Linked DNA regions of Homo sapiens: region 2 is linked to region 1. The links are contacts of gene promoters, found by promoter capture Hi-C in human tissues and cell types (Jung and others, 2019). All regions are on one chromosome and are shown on one strand. The core of a region is centred on a gene start or on the middle of the fragment in contact, and the rest is flanking DNA. Distances in the headings are between cores, read along the strand shown.

Evidence for each region. Contacts are between HindIII fragments. The study calls those that stand out against the background at their distance.
Region 2: a fragment that was not itself captured here is called in contact with the fragment with the promoter of HAVCR1 in region 1 in 1 of the 25 tissues and cell types used here (mesenchymal stem cells).

Annotation. Positions count from the first base shown.
Region 1 is chr5:157,056,658-157,061,311 of GRCh38, forward strand. It overlaps HAVCR1 (hepatitis A virus cellular receptor 1), which reads right to left and starts at 2,459. Exons shown (of 9, transcript NM_001173393.3): 1 at 2,264-2,459; 2 at 1,241-1,298. The coding sequence starts at 1,286. The HindIII fragment of the contact is 13,602 bases long and covers 1-4,654 here.
Region 2 is chr5:156,360,336-156,364,989 of GRCh38, forward strand. The region is part of intron 3 of SGCD (sarcoglycan delta); the gene reads left to right. The region is part of intron 1 of LOC124901120 (a long non-coding RNA gene); the gene reads right to left. Among named protein-coding and RNA genes, the nearest start is that of SGCD, 35 kb to the left of the region's middle. The HindIII fragment of the contact is 5,931 bases long and covers 1-4,654 here.

The sequences.
Region 1 (4,654 bases), core at 1,209-3,708:
GTGTGAGCCACCACGCCCGGCCACCAAGAAATTCTTGTTTAATTTTGCCTAATACTAGTATCATTTTTTTGGATTACACATATAATGCATGCTATTACAATTTGGTTATAGAAGTATATAATGAGAGATTATTTTTCCCCCATAATCCCAAAGGCATATATCACTCCAGAAATTTGTGTTTAAAAATTAGGATATGTCTATTTTACTCTTTCCTTATCTCATAGAATGTTTTGAATTAAAGTGTTTATTTCAAAATAAAATACTTAGGCCAGATGTGGTGGCTAACGCCTATAATCCCAGCACTTTGGGAGACTGAGGTGGGAGAATCACTTGAGCCCAGGAGGTCGAGGTTGCAGTGAATCAAGATTGCCCAACTAGGCCAGGCGCGGTGACTCACGCCTATAATTCCAGCACTTTGGGAGGCCGAGGCAGGTGGATCACAAGGTCAGGAGTTCAAGATCAGCTTGGCCAAGATGGGGAAACCTTGTCTCTACTAAAAATACAAAAAAATTAGCTGGTAGTGGTGGCAGGTACCTGTAATCCCAGCTACTTGGGAGACTGAGGCAGAGAATTGCTTGAACCCAGGAGGCGGAGGCTGCAGTGAGCCGAGATCACGCCACTGAACTCTAGCCTGGGCGACAGAGTGAGACTCTGTCTCAAAAAAAAAAAGATTGCCCTACTGCACTCCAGAGTGAGACCTCATGAAGAGAGAGAGAGAGAGAGAGAGAGGAAAGAAAGAAAGAAAGAAAGAAAGAAAGAAAGAAAGAAAGAAAGAAAGAAAGAAAGAAAGAAAGAAAGAAAGAAAGAGAATTGAATGTGGCTGAAAAAAATCGGAAGGCACAAAAAAATACAATAAGGATTAACTCTCCCTCCACCTCCCACCCTCTGCCCCCATCCCACATTACCCACTGTCACTATTTCCTATATACATGTGTCTATGCATATACATCTAACCACACCCTTTTTGTTTAAACACAAAGGGCAGCCTGTGACACACTGTGCTGCATCTTGCCTTGTTCATTTAGCCATGAATGTTGTAATTCACAGCAGTTAAGCAATTTCTTTGGCCTAAAACTTTATTCTGGTCCTGCTCACTAGTTAACTCATAGCCATACAACGGTACCCAAAGAACATCTACATTAATCCACCACCACCATCCCCTCCCCTTCCCCTACCCCATTCTCTGGCTTCTAACCCCCCTCTACTCCCTTCTTCCCGCCCAGGGCACCTACTCACTTACCTGCCAGATGTAGGATGAGGCTTAAGATGACCACTTGAGGATGCATTATGGGATCAGCCTGAAGGAAAATGAGCAGACAGGCTGGTTGGTACCCTCCACCAGATGGTATCTGATCAAGTCTTAAATCTCAGATTGCAACTTATCTTTTCACCCAGTTGGTTGATTCATATGAGCCTGCTCTGCTGGAAATGAGAGAAGACCACATATAACGGCTTCAGAGCTCTGTTAGTTCCCTGCAGCTGAGAGCTCTGTGCCTTCCAAAGGACAGGGAAAGCTGTCCACAGAAACAGCCCCTGACTTCCCAGCTTCTTCCCCACACATAACCGCCAAACTGACTCCTGGTCCTGATACAGGGTATCAGGGGAACAAACAAAAAGGAAACAGGGCCGGGCGCGGTGGCTCAAACCTGTAATCCTAGCACTTTGGGAGGCCAAGGCGGGCAGATCACGAAGTCAGGAGATCGAGACCATCCTGGCTAAAAGGGTGAAACCCCGTCTCTACTAAAAATACAAAAAATTAGCCGGGCGTGGTCACTGGCGCCTGTAGTCCCAGCTACTCGGGAGGCTGAGGCAGGAGAATGGCGTGAACCCGCGGGAGGCGGAGCTTGCGGTGAGCCGAGATCGCGCCACTGCACTCCAGCCTGGGCGACAGAGCAAGACTCCGTCTCAAAAAACAAAACAAAAAAAAAGAAAAGAAAAGGAAACTGGAAGCAGAGAACCAGCGTGGCTCAATGGCAGCACGAGAGCAAATGCCAGCCTTCCAGTGGCAGAGATGCACTTGCTTTTCAGAGTAAACTGGGCCTCTGGTGGACGTGGAGCTTTTCCTACTCAGTGGCCACAACGACTTATCCCTAGCCTTAACAGTCATATTGCCAAGTTTGCCATTAGCAAGAGAAATTGAGAGTGAATGTGAATCACTGTGCCTAACCTTTCATGCTCCTGTACAACATGCTTCAGACTACACCTCCTTACCAAGGGACTTCAAGAGAATGCTTCAGGAAACAGAAGTCTGGAGCAGACTTACGTTCAGATCCAGGCTCTGTCACTCACAATGCTGGGTAACCCTGAGAGTTCCTGAGTTCTCTTCAAACCTCTATTTCCTCAGTTGTAAAATAGCACTAAAAATGCTTCCTCTATCTCCCACCAAGGATTGATATAATAAGCAAAAAGGGCCACGGAAGAACTTGGAAAACTAAACCTACATCATATGCAGTAATAGCACTAGCTGAGGTTTTTGGAGAATACTATATAGCAGGCTCTGTGTCAAGCACCCACATGCGTTAAATCGGGCTGTTGACTTCTGCTGTTAATCATTAAACCATACAAACATGAGTAAGCTTGCCTAGTACTTCATTAACTCCTCTTCTGGTCTAAGAATTCAGTAACTTCCAAGGAGGCAGTGGTGGTCTGTATCTTGCAGCTCATGACAGGGTTCATGGGGAAGTGGATGATCTCAGCATAGTGTTTTGTATGGCAGCGTTTAAAAATTCATTTCTTGACCGGGCATGGTGGCTCGTGCCTGTAACCCCAGCACTTTGGGAGGCCGAGTAGGCCAGTCACCTGAGGTCGGGAGTTCAAGACCAGCCTGGCTAACACGGTGAAACCCCGACTCTACTAAAAATACAAAAATTAGCTGGGGGTGGTGGCGGGCGCCTGTAATCCCAGCTACTTAGGAGGCTGAGGTAGAAGAATTGCTTGAACCTGGAAGGTGGAGGTTGCAGTGAGCCGAGATCAAGCCATTGCACTCTAGCCTGGACAACAAGAACAAAACTCCATCTCAAAAATAAAAATAAAAATTCATTTCTTGCCAGGCACAGTGGCTCACGCCTGTAATCCCAACACTTTGGGAGGCCAAGGCAAGTGGATCACCTGAGGTAAGGAGTTTGAGACCAACCTGGGCAACATAGCAAGACTCCCTCTCTGCAAAAAAAACGAACAAAAAATATAGTCAGGCCTTGTGTACCTGACCGTAGTCCCAGCTACTCAGGAGGCTGAGGCAGGAGGGTTGCTTGAGCCCAGCAGTTGGAGGCTATGATTGTGCCACTGCACACCAGCCGGGGTGACAGAGCAAGACCCTGTTTCTTAAGGAAAAAAAGATTGAAAAAAAAAAGCTAATTCAATTCAACCAGTTATTACTAACATATTGAGCTGATGGGACATGACTCAATATACTAGGGACGTCAAAAATCCAGACTTGTGCAATCGGGCAGGGACATGGGTAAGTAAGCAACTAATGAAATCAGGATAAGTGAGGTAAAGGTAAATATATAATCAGACTACATCATTCCCCCACTTATAACCCTCTCATAACTCTCTCAGAAAAATAATAATAATAATAATAATAATAATTCCTAAATCTTTACTCAAATTACTGAAGCCCTGGTGGTCTGGCCCTGACCTACCCCATAGATTTCTTCTACCACTCTCTCCCCTGCTGACTCAGCCCCAGCTACTAGAGCTTTCTTTCCAACTTGCCTCAACCCTAAGGCCTTTTCCGTGGCTGTGTTCTCCATCTAGCTCCCCAGCCCCACCATTTTCACTTTTTTCCTTTTCATTTTTATCCCGGCTTAAATATGACCTCCCTGGACATTTTTCACAGGTCCTTCAATCTAAAGTAGCCAACCAGTCCCTCTCACTATTATTATCTTGTTTTCCTTAATCCATTTTATCTGTGTGTGCAATATATGTGGTGTCTGTCTCTATTCCCTCCTATAGAGTGCTGCCCGGTAGAATTTTAGTAATGGAGTTATTCTGGTAACGGAGTTATTCTGGAACTGATGAGCCACAGAGAGCCAAGACAGGGATGTGGAGCCAGTGCTCTGAGATGTTACATAACTGTACAATTCCATAGGATTTGAATTTGAATTCCATAGGATCGATTCTGTCTCCAGTAGAATATTGGTTACAGAGTTATTCTGTGTGAGTGTCGTGCACTACAGCAGCCACTAGCCACATATGACTATTGAGCACTTGAAATGTGGCTAAGGCAACCAAGGCATTTTTAATTTTTTTTTTTTCCAAGACAGAGCCTGACTCTGTCACCCAGGCTGGAGTGCAGTGTCACAATCTCAGCTCAGTGCAACCTCCATCTCCTGGGTTTAAGTGATTCTCTTGCCACAGTCTCCTGAGTAGCTGGGACTACAGACACGCGCCACCATGCCTGGCTAATTTTTGTATTTTTAGCAGAGGTGGAGTTTCACCATGTTGGCCAGGCTGGGCTGGAACTCCTGGCCTCAAGTGATACGCTCATCTCAACTTCCAAAAGTGCTGGAATTACAGGTGTGAGCCGCCATGCCTGGCCTAAAAATTTTTATTTAATTTCATTTTAATTAAAATTTCAGATTGCTTGAGCCCAGGAGACAGTCTTCGGGGAGTTGAGATGGCACCACTGCACTCAAGCCTTAGATGACAGAGC
Region 2 (4,654 bases), core at 748-3,247, 700 kb before region 1:
TTCCCTGGTTCAAGCAATTTTCTTGCCTCAGCCTCCTGAGTAGCTGGGATTACAGGCACCTGCCACCATGCCTGGCTAATTTTTGTATTTTTAGTAGAGATGGGGTTTCACCATGTTGGCCAGGCTGGTCTCAAACTCCTGACCTCAGGTGATCTGCCTGCCTTGGCCTCCCAAAGTGCTGGAATTACAGGCCTAATTGGTTTTTTTACACTGTAGTGTCCACCTTTGAGTGCTGTCTTCACTTTAACCTTTATTGCATACTCACAACCCAATCAGCACACACTTCCCATCCTGTGCCTATAAAGACTCCAGACTCAGTCAGTAGAGGGGGAGATGGCCAGACTTTGAGGAGACCACTGGACTTTGGAGAAGAGATGGCCAGACTGTGAAAGACACAGCCTGACTTTGGGGGAAGACGACTCACCCTTCCCATCCCCTCTCCAGCTCCCCTTTCTACTGAGAGCCATTTTCATCACTTAATACAAATCTTAGCCTTCACCATCCTTCAGTTGTCTGCATGACCTCATTCTACTTGGATGCCAGACAAGGGCTTGGCGCCCACCAAGAGTAGGTACCCAGAAAGGCTGTCACACCAGCCGTTTGCTCTCACTGACAGAGGGCAACTGCCCCACATGATTGAGGCAAGGGGTCAATTGAGCTGCTAACACACTGCCACCTGCAGATGGCAGAACTAAGAGAATACTGTAATGCTGTAAGCCCCTCTGGGGCTTCGGGGTCATGGGCACCCTAACCTGGGTGCTGCTGCAGGCCCCATATGGAGCTTGCTCCTGCTGGAGCCTGGAGCGCCCAACAAGATCCTGTAGTTGCTTGTTCATGCGCTCCCTCCTGCAAGGGGTTGAGCACAGTGGGCAAGCCAAATAATAGGGCACCCCTGTTGCAAGTCCAATGAAGGGGCCAAGAAAAATCTTGCACCAAAAGGATGATTCGGAAAAATCCTGATGTGCACATACATGTGATTTTAGGAGAGAAGCAGTGTAATTTACCAGGTTTTGAAGAAGACAGACCTGGAAGCTTCTGCTCTGTTACTGATGATCTAGACAATTATTGGCAAAGTACCTAATCTTCTCTGACCCTTCCTTTACTCATTTGTACTAGTGAGATTAGCAATACTTGTGTTGAAAAGTTGTAATAAAGATTAGAGATAACCAGAAAGTAGAGTATGGTAGGCACTCAGTGCTAGTTTTTATCCCTGTCAACTTAAAACATTTGGAGAATTGTCTTACAAAGAGGAAAATAAGTTTCAGTTGCTAAAATTCAGCACAGAGTCATAAGCTCATGTTTAAAGGAATGACTAATAGAGTCTTAAAAGCATATGTAACTTGGGTGTTGCTGAAAATCATCATTACTGTAAGAAATACGGTGACTCAAATATTTTATATGTACACATTATTGCTGGTTCAACTTAAAATAGGACTCTGTGAAACACAGTAAACTATAGCTATTCTGGTGCATGAGATGGCCTATAAAGAGGTAAACTAAAATAATTATTGGTTGTGATGCATCCTCTGAAGTCTACAGAGAGAGATGACAACGTGAAATTGCATGTGGATTACTTTGGACATGGATCAGCATTTGCCTCCCTGGAAAGGCAAATTTTAGTAGAAGCCTAAAGGAATGATACTGAGACAGTCATGGGAAGAGCTGGGCAAGATTTTAGGCCGAAGGAAAAGCAAGTTCAAAAGCCCTGATTGAGAAAGGACTTAGAGTAGGCTGTCTATGTGTAGTGTCAAGAAAAGGGAATTGCCATTCAGACAGTCTCCACTGTAGGAACACACACCCTAAGTAGGAGCCAATGAAGAAGCAACACACATGTACTTGAGTCTCCACACTGCACTATGTCATTCATGAGAGGCCATTTGACCTTTACTGGCTTATTTCTGATTTGTATGGTGTGATGCTTACATCAGGTGGTTCAAAATCTCTGCCTTCTTGGAAGCCCTCTTCAAAGCCAATATTCCTATTTGTCAATAAAGGTTGAGTGTTCAAATGGTTTAGAAATAGCATTCGAGGCTGGCACGTGGTGGCTCATGCCTGTAATGCCAGCACTTTGGGAGGCCCAGGCGGGCGGATCATGAGGTCAAGAGACTGAAACCATCCTGGCCAACATGGTGAAACCCCATCTCTACTAAAATTATAAAAATTAGCTGGGAGTAGTGGTGCGCATCTGTAGTCCCAGCTACTCGAGAGGCTGAGGCAGAAGAATCACTTGAACCCGGGAGGCAGAGGTTGCAGTGAGCCAAGATCACGCCACTGCATGCCATCCTGGTGACAGAGAGAGACTCCATCTCAAAACAAATGAAAAAAACAGAAATAGCATTCCATAGTGTGACTACTGTGAACCTCGTGGCTAGTCTCTGGGATGGACCACTATGGAGAACTTTTCCAATAAGGGATACTTGGGAGCATTTCATGACATATACTCTATTTGCTTTATTCAGAGTCACAGCAACCTTCAAACATTGTAAATGGACTCCACTATCTAATCAGGGAATTATAGCAATATATTAATTGCCATTTCTGATTATTTGCATTTAATTAAGGGGTACTCTTGAGAAATTGAAGGACAGCATAACCTCAAAATATGGCTTTACATCTGGGATAATTGACTATAATTTCTGTCTTTGCAGCTTTCCCTAAATTGTTTATTTCTCCAGATGGTTTCTAAAATCTATGATTTTACCTTTTTTTTTTAATGGGTGAGTAGGGTTTTCTGATAAATGCTTATATGGTTTAGTTTTTGCAGCTAAATTAAAGCTTAATTAGTCAAAAATCCAGATCTGTGATATGTTTATGAAGTTTATACAAGCATAATTAATTTCAGTTAATTGCACAAATAGCTTTCCGTGTAAACAATAACCTCTTCACTACTGACCTCTAAATGTCAGATTTCAGTTTATCTACATTTCTAGCCTTCCATGGTAACTCACGTATTTCTAAAAGTATTGTTCTTTCCTTTGATTTATGATTTTATTAAGGGAGTCAGTGATTACCCCTGCAACCCACGTTTCATGTTTTGAAAATGCAGTGAAAAAAGTATAACATTGCTTTTGTTTTGATGGAAGCAGAAAAATAATTTAAAATATGATTTTGGTATGCTCTCCTAAGTTTATTTCTTCTCATTAAGTTACCTAGGTTTTTTTAGTCTATTTGAATGACAGCTCAAATTTCATTGATCAGCTCAATGTCAAAAATAATAGCTATTATTTTTTTAAATATCCTGATTGTTTCCAGGATTTCTCTTCCTGAGAAGAATAACATTACTGTAAACTGAGCCAGATTCTCTTGCTGTATAAGCTGTTGCCTTTGCAGAGGTATTTACAAAGCCATGCCTAATTCTAAGAAATTATTCTCTGTAAGTATGCCTTCACTTTTGATTGGCAATGAAATTTTCTTATTAGTTCCCTTATTTCCCTAATAAATCTTACATATAGATTGAAATTGATTAATTTTGTCTTTTTCTGTCTACCTGGTTGAAGGGAAAGGGGATGTCATTGCTTCAGGAGCTCTTTCAGAAGACCCAGAAATGTCTTTCCCAGGAGCACACAGAAAAACTCACTACCTGTCACATTGGCCTGACGGGAGTCACATGCCCAGGTCTGGACGAATAACTGTACCCAGGGAATGTGATTATGATCATTGGCTTGGTGGTCTCAGTCACAAGTCCCACACCTAATACTCAAGGCCTCTGGGCTGTGCAGGGAGGTATGGGCAGCAGAGTGAAAATGAGTCATTGCAAATGAAAGAGGAGGGGATGCTGAGAAAGCAGTCACAGATCTATCTCTCAGAACTGAATCTACTGAGTTATGCTGGGATTATGACAGCAGAAGTCTGGGGGAACCTCTTGACTTTAAAGTGACTTTTCCCTCAAAATGGTCAGTATATATGAATTTGGAATCTGTAAAGTGTTCTTCCTTGCTGTATTCCTCCAAGGTTCACTAACAATCAGTCTTATAGAATCAATTCAAAAGGACCATGTTTTTGGTGCCTATCTTATTATTAGTGTCAGGGCTACATTTTTTTTTTTAATGCGCAATGAAATCCATGAAATACTTAGCAAGAATACTTTGCAAATTTGGCTTTGGGGGCAGTGCATGGCTTATAGGCAGAAGGAAAAATATCTGACAATTGCATAAATTGAAAAACCCTTCATCCATTTCTAGGCTGCAGCTACCTATAAGCAGTTGAAAAAGGAGAAATCCAGTATGTGTGTGACTTTCAAGGAATCTTTAATGGTTCAATATCTTTTTAGTTTTGTACACAGACTATAGGAAGGTCATTTTTCCCTATGTGTATGAAGTTGGCCTCCCTCCCTTTGTGGGATTTTTGCTCATTTCAGAGGATAAGAAATGAGGACTGGCTATTGTTAGTGACAGGACAGTGCTTCAAGAATAATGAGAGTCACTCCTCCTTTTCCCTAAAGATTGGTAAAGCAAAAGTACACACTGGCTTGGAAACTTTTTCCAAATAAGTATCTTTGCCATTTTCTCTCCAGAACTGTAGAGAGCCTCCTTAGGACATTTGAGTTATGGTCTGGGCTTTTTCACAAGCTATGAGACCTTGGGCATACTACCTGTCGCCTCTGGGCATCATGGTGCATGTTGGTAAAACGGAGAGTTGCAAGGGCATACTCAGA